Regions from separate parts of the Homo sapiens genome. Here region 2 is linked to region 1. The links are contacts of gene promoters, found by promoter capture Hi-C in blood cells and fetal thymus (Javierre and others, 2016). All regions are on one chromosome and are shown on one strand. Each heading gives the region's core, a stretch centred on a gene start or on the middle of the fragment in contact. The rest is flanking DNA. Distances are from core to core; before and after follow the strand shown. Region 1 holds the start of SLC6A18 (solute carrier family 6 member 18). Region 2 has its middle 39 kb from the start of TRIP13.

The links. The method cuts DNA at HindIII sites, captures the fragments that hold promoters and counts their contacts. A CHiCAGO score of 5 or more calls a contact.
Region 2: a fragment that was not itself captured here is called in contact with the fragment with the promoter of SLC6A18 in region 1 in 4 of 17 cell types (erythroblasts, fetal thymus, M2 macrophages and 1 more); the score reaches 8.0 in erythroblasts.

What each region holds. Positions count from the first base shown.
Region 1 is chr5:1,223,709-1,227,254 of GRCh38, forward strand. SLC6A18 (solute carrier family 6 member 18) reads left to right here and starts at 1,673. Exons shown (of 12, transcript NM_182632.3): 1 at 1,673-1,929. The coding sequence starts at 1,770. It overlaps SLC6A19 (solute carrier family 6 member 19), which reads left to right. Exons shown (of 12, transcript NM_001003841.3): 12 at 1-1,403. RefSeq lists an enhancer at 2,067-2,609. The HindIII fragment of the contact is 4,471 bases long and covers 1-3,546 here.
Region 2 is chr5:930,431-933,976 of GRCh38, forward strand. No RefSeq gene overlaps it. Among named protein-coding and RNA genes, the nearest start is that of TRIP13, 39 kb to the left of the region's middle. The HindIII fragment of the contact is 2,638 bases long and covers 620-3,257 here.

The DNA of each region.
Region 1 (3,546 bases), core at 423-2,922:
CAGGTCACCTCTGCTTTCCATAGAAGAATCTGGACGCTTACATTAAACTGATGTTCTGAGAATTCCTACAGGCAGGACTGAAAGCCTGGTGTGTGCCAGTATGATGTTCCACCCACAGAAACCTGGTCACAATCGTCCCTTCCAGCACCCCATCCAGCAGTGACTGCACACACTGAGTCCCCTACCAGCCCCTTTCACCCTGCTGACTGTCACTGGGCCCTGGGATGCGCAAGACTCCACAGCAGCAGAGGTGGGGGGACATATCACAGCCTCTGCCCCCGGCTGTGATGCCACCGAGGGGCTCGCCTGCTGATGGCTTCAACAGGGTCTCACCTCATCTTTTCCTGCTCTTTGGCCCTGGATCGAGAAAATTTCCATCAGTGCCCCATTAATATGCTGCCCTGTGGCATCTGCCCAGGAGGCCCTGCCAGGCGTGCACAGGTGTGCATTGGTGTACCCTGGCATGCACAGGTGTGCACTGATGTGCCCTGGCATCCATTGGTGTACCCTGGTGTGCCTGCCATAGGACCCTGGGCGGGAGCTCCCATCTCATCTACATCTCCTGATTCATGCGTTGTTTCATAGGTTTCAATGTCTCTGTAAATGTGGTAGAAATGCAGGCTTTATGGGCATAAAGTGTACATTTCTAAATAAATCCCTTCTATTGAGTATGCTCACCCTAGAAGTTACTGTTGTCCAGACGTAGAGGGATGAGTGAGCCAGTGACCTCAGACGGGATGGTGGGGACGGCAGGTCCAGCTCCTGCCTCCTCCTGGGGGGTCTGGCTTTGGGGGCTTGCTCCGAAGAGGCCATGGCCCAGGCCTGTGGCCTCACAATGGGGACCAACCAGCTCTTCTCATCTTCTTCCCTCACACTTCCTCTCACTCAAATAAGAACCTTCCAAAAATGTGTCCACCTGGGCCCCTGCCCTGGGACTCATGGATTTGGAGTTGTGGCCACACGGTTGAGGGGTGCAGTGTCCAGTGGAATGGGGCAATTGCGGGCCTGGGGGCCCTTGGCCTGTCCGTGGCGGGAGCATCTGCAAGGAGGAGCCCCAGAGTCCAGGGAGCACTGTGGGGAGCTCCTTAGAGCTGAACTCACCCGGCGTCAACTCATCAACCCTCCACCCATGGACAGGGGTGCCCCCAGCACAGGAGAGGACTCAGCCCTCTGCCCCCACGCACGGTGGGTGCCTGTCACCCTGTCCTGCCCAGCGGCCCGAGGGCAGCAGTGGGTGTGAGGGCAGCCCCCGGCCTCCCAAGAGCAGCTGAGAGGATCCCTGCGGGAATCCGGGCTTCGGGTGCATGCGATCTGATCTGAGTTGTTTCTGACAGTGACAGAGTGACAATCTATAAGTATCTCAAGATCAAATGGTTAAATAAAACATAAGAAATTTAAAACGATTAAAATATGCCTCAGTCTTGGGAATCCTGGTGTCTGCAACAAAAAAACTTGAGGCTGTCCTTGCAAACGGTCCTCATGGTGCTGGGGGTGGTGCCAGGCCCGGCGTTTGCCTGGAACACAGAGCATGCGAGAAGGAGCAGAGGACGTGGGTGCCAGGGAAGGACCCTGGCGTCAGAGCCAGGGCCTGGACCTGAGTTACCCATTAACGGCACTCCACTGGTTTTCCTTTAAAGAAATGAATAAATACAACTGCAGTGGGGCTGCTTGTGGTTTCCAAACGTCGGCAGAGGCTGGAGACGGCTCTCTAGTGCTGGGTGTGGAGTGAGGCACCACCCTTGCCCTGAAGCCTGGGGCACTCAGTCACCATGGCTCATGCCCCAGAACCGGACCCGGCCGCCTGCGACCTCGGGGATGAGAGGCCCAAGTGGGACAACAAGGCCCAGTACCTCCTGAGCTGCACTGGGTTTGCCGTGGGACTGGGGAACATTTGGCGGTTCCCATACCTGTGCCAGACCTATGGAGGAGGTAAGCACCCACCTGCGTCCTGGGGCAGACCCCTAAGCAGGGGAGGCCGTCTCCACCCTGACCTGCCAGGCGCCTGCCACGCATCCCCAGTGCTTGGGCAGAGTCACTCCTCCTGGAAACCAGGGTGCACCATTGCCCACGGCAGAGTCAGTCCCCTCAGGGCCCACCTGCAGTCTTCTGGGACCTCAGGGCAGCTTCACCACTGCCCACAGCACGGAGGATCCAGTCCCCTCGGGGTCCACTATGGTCTTCCGGGACCTCAGGGCAGCTTCCTGCCAGGCGTCAGGTTGAATGGGCCGCCCTGCCCGACACACACACCCTACAAACAGTGAGCGCTCTTCCATCTGAATGTCGTCAGTTCTTTAAAGAACACACAATCCGCTCTGGGTTTCCTCACCACAGCCTTGGTGTGTCCAGACATGTGCTCAGGTGCCCTTCTCCGAGGTTCTTTGCAGGAATTTGGGGGCCCACCCCTCGCCTCCCTGGCTTTGGTTCTCTGGGAGAGCCCTGTGGGGGGTGCCAGGATGTTCAGAACTGTCTGGGTGACTTTAGTGACCTTGGACTCACCACCCCCAGAAGTGCATTGGTGACTGAAATAGGCTCCCACGCACCTCGAGCCTCCCCTCACCCTGTGCCTGCTTCTCTTCATGCAGGGGTCACACTCTGCTCTCCATGTGGCGACACAGGATGTAGGGACAGGCATGAATCACTGCTCTCAGGGAGCCGACGTACAACATCACGCATGGACACCCAGGTCTTCCCCAGGCAACACGGGCAGGGGCTTCCCAGGCCGCAGGGTCCTCCTCAGGCCAGGCCGGGCTGCTTGGTCAGCCTGTTCCCCGGGCCCTCAGCTCCTTCCCTGAGAGCCCCGCACAACTATCCCTTGTTATAAGGTTACTCCTTTAAAGTGTTTTTCCTCCTGCTTAAGAAAAGATTCTCAACAGGCAGAAAATGCAGGAAATGCGCACAAATGGAAAAAACAAAAAGAAACACCCGTCACTGCCACCCTCGGGGCACTGGGGTCTCTTTGGGGCTTTGGGGCTGGAGAGGGTGCATTGGGCCTTGGATCTTCTCATCATGAGAGTCCCTTTGAAGGCATTTCTGAAAGCACCAAAGCCCAAGGGCAGAGGCGTCCCTGGCTCCCGGGGCCCTCGCTGCCTGTGCTGCGGCTCGATCTGCTAAGAGTCACCAGAGCATGCAAGGTTGTGGGGGCAGCAGGCTTCACGCAGAGCTGGAAATGCCGGCCAACGCTTTACCCACCAACGCCTTGTTCGCCAATGCCTTGCCCACCGATGCCTTTCCTGCTGATGCCTTGCCCAACGCCTTGCCCACCGACGCCTTGCCCACCGATGCCTTGCCCACCGATGCCTTGCCCGCCGACGCGCCCAACGCCTTGCCCGCCGACGCCTTGCCCGCCGACACCTTGCCCGCCGACCCCTTGCCCGCCGACGCCTTGCCCGCCGACGCCTTGCCCGCCGACGCCTTGCCCGTCGATGCCTTGCCCGCCGATGACTTGCCCGCCGATGCCTTGCCCGCCGATGCCTTGCCCACCGAAACCCAGTTACCATTGCTAAGCGCCTGCAGTGTACTGGAAGTGTCTGGCACTAGCCTCCCTTA
Region 2 (3,546 bases), core at 689-3,188, 290 kb before region 1:
TGTTAAAAAGCATATGGCACCTACCCTCTCTTTCTCCTCCTCCTGCTCTGGTCAAGTGAAGATGTGCCTGCTTCCCCTTAGACTTCCACAATGATTGTAAGATTTCTCAGGTATTTAGAGCACTGCAAGAACAGACATACACAGGTATACTCCAAATACTTCCACCGTGAGCACCATCACCTCCAAATGTGTTCACCTGTGAGCACCTTCACCTCCCAGTACATTCACCTGTGAGTACATAACCTACTGGTACATTCACCTGTGAGCACCTTCACCTCCCAGTACATTCGCCTGTGAGCACATAACCTACTCGTACATTCACTGTGAGTACCTTCACCTCCCAGTACATTCACCTGTGAGTACCTTCATCTCCCAGTACATTCACCTGTGAGCACCTTCACCTTCCAGTACATTCACCTGTGACAGATTCCCCTCCCAGTACATTCATTCACCTGTGAGCACATTTAATCCCAGTACATTCACCTGTGAACACATTCACCTCCCCGTACATTCACCTGTGAGCACATTAACCTGTGAATATGATCACCTGTGTACAGACTCTCAGGCTGCACCGGAGAATTTAACTGACGCAGAAAGATCAACAGGAGGAAAGCACGGAAGCTTATTTAAAGGAAGCTCTATATGGTGGGAGAGCCTCCCATGGAAGGAATGCCCTAAAGCCACAGAGTTGGACACTCACACCCATGTGAGCAAACAGGACTTGCAAGAAGTGGATGGGTGGATCTCTAGTGGCTCACCGGCCCTAAATCCTCATAGAGCCCAGTGACCGTTTGCTGACTAGAGGTCACACGGGTACCCGGAGTTCCTTGAAATCCCATACCTCTGTTAAACTTTGGGACTTCCAGAGCTCCCCTGAACCAACCCATCAGAACACAGGAAGTTTGAATTTTTCATTTGCATAAGCGAACCTATGTGAGAACTTTCAGTATAAAAGCTGGACCCTCTCTTTGTTCTCTGGAAAGCATCCTGGTTTTACGCTGAAGGCAGCATCTCCCACTTCACAAACTGTTCATAGGAATAGTCTTTCCTCTACATTCCTTTTCAAAGAACTTTTGTGCACCCTGAATTGGAGGTGGAGTAGTAAGCTGTGAAAAATACATTGTGTGCGGAGGCTGCCAAGAAGAGTGATTTTAAGGAGGCTATGCTGAAATCTCTCTGGGTCTGGGCCTCCCACTGTTGATAAGAAAGATGCTTTCCCAAACGTATGGGGAGGGCATCTTTCACATGAGAATTTCGTCTCCTGCTTTTAAGACATGGAATGGCGATCAGCTTAAAGCCAGAGCAATGCCTTTGGGGTGGTGGGCTCTTAGCTCCTTCAGGATCACGCCACAGAAGGAAATCGGTGAGCACCTGCTCCCGCCCTCAGAAAAAGCTGCAGTTTCTTAGGGAGTGACAGCTGTTCATGCCAGCTTTGGGGGCACTTCCCATCTGGAGCAAAGGAGGTCAACTTCGAACAGCACGAAGCCAGCTGCTTCCCAAGGTAAGAAATGTCAACAAAATTCAAGTGACCAAACTCTCCGTTTTGAAGATGGGGACTCTCAGTTTGGGGACAGGCCACACCGCTTCAAGAGAGCATGGGGTTCTGCACCCGCACCTCTGAGCCCTCCTTTCAAAGGACGCATTTGGTTCTTGCCTCGTTGGAAAGGCAGGTGGAGCTTCATTTAAGGAATAATGACCCTGCCATTACTGGCCATTTTGGGCTTGATTCATTTTCCTTTCCATAAACTCAGCCAAAGAGAGTCAAAGGCTTCCTTTAAGACACTCTCTTTTCTGTACTTGGACCTGCAGTGTGGCCCCTGGGAGGTGGACAATGACTTCACTCTCAGCTCACAGCATCCTTGCGTTCTGTGTCAGGGGAGCAAAATCCCATGTGAACTGGGCACCCTCCCTTTCCACAGACATTAACCCCCAAACGTGAGAGCGGGCTCCCAGCCACCTGGAAGGCAGCAGCATCCACGCCGCCGGAGCTGGTGTCTGAGGGGCAGATGGCATGGACAGGCTCCTCCCTTCAGGCATTGCTATGTCCTGGGAAGGAACAGAGAGAGGAATACAAGGATGATGGGAGTCAATTCAGTAATTCCAAGTGGGACATTAACATGCCAGCCCTCTGCTCACTGAGGGACAGAGTGGTCTGCCCAGAGGAAGCATGGTAGCCTGGGCCCGAGCTGCGGGACTGAGTGGCTGCCCTCCTGAAACCCACCCTCCTCTGTCCAAGAGCAGGAGCTGTGTTCAGCTGGGCAAGGCTGATGACTGAAGCCTGGCTGCTGGTGCCTGGGAATAAATCAGAGGCTGACGATGGTCACTGGAGAAGAACAGCAACAAGGCATCAGTGACGATTGCCACCTGTCAGTCGCCTCCTCAGAACCACATCCTGAGCTGAGCTGTGACTAACTTGACCTCTGCACCTCTGTGAAAAAGGATATGGCTGCCCGTTTTCCAGCAAGGAATGAGGACTGAGGGCAGCTCTTGGCTTTGGTTGGCCAGGGCTTGAACCTTCTGTTTCTGGGCAGAACTAGAGCCATAAGGGGTGATCCAAAGGGAAGGCAATTCCTGGGTTCACCCATAAACTCATAACAGAGTTGTTATACTTTCTGCTGAGATAAATGACTTCTTTTATTTCCCTTTTGGAGAACAATTGCCCAATGTTCTGGCTAGTTTTTATTTGGCTTAAATTTTGGAATGAAAGGAAAGTATGACCCATTAGTGAAGCTGGATGTGAAGATGGAGAAAGTGTGTATGCCTGTGTCTCCATGAGAAAGACAAGACTAAGCAAGAAATACTAACCCCTGAGCAGCAGGTCAGGCCCTCTTCTGGAAATGAACCTAAAGTTAGGTCTCTGTGTACTTTCTAATTATATTAGTCTGTCTTCACACTGCTATAAAGAACTATCAGAGACTGGGTAATTTATGAAGAAAGAAGATTTAATTGACTCAGTTCTGCAGGCTTAACAGGAAGCATGACTGGGAGGCCTCAGGAAACTTATAATCATGGTGGAAGGTGAAAGGGAAGCAACGCACATTTTCCTATGGTGGAGCAGGAGAGAGAGAGTGACGGGGGAAGTACCACACACTTTAAAACTTTCAGATCTCATGAAAACTCACTATCATGAGAACAGCAAGGGGGAAGTCAGCCCCCTGGATTCAGTCACCTCCCACCAGGCCTCTCACCAATTCAACATGAGATTTGGGTGGGTACACAAATCTAAACCACAAAATTTGACCCCTGGCCCTTCCCAAAGCTTACGTCCTTCTCACATTGCAAAATGCAATTATCCCTTCTCAACAGTCCCTGAGTCTTAACTCATTTTAGCATTAACTGAAATCTCCACAGTCCAAAGTCTTATCTGAGACAAGATAAGTCCCTTCCAGCTATGATCCTGTAAAATAAAAAATAGTTACTTCCAAGATATAATGGGGGTATAGGCATTGGGTAAATGCTTCCATTCCAAATGGAAGAAATTGGGCAAAAGAAAGGGGCTACAGGCCCCATGCGAGTCCAAAACTCAGCAGGGCAGGCATTAAACCA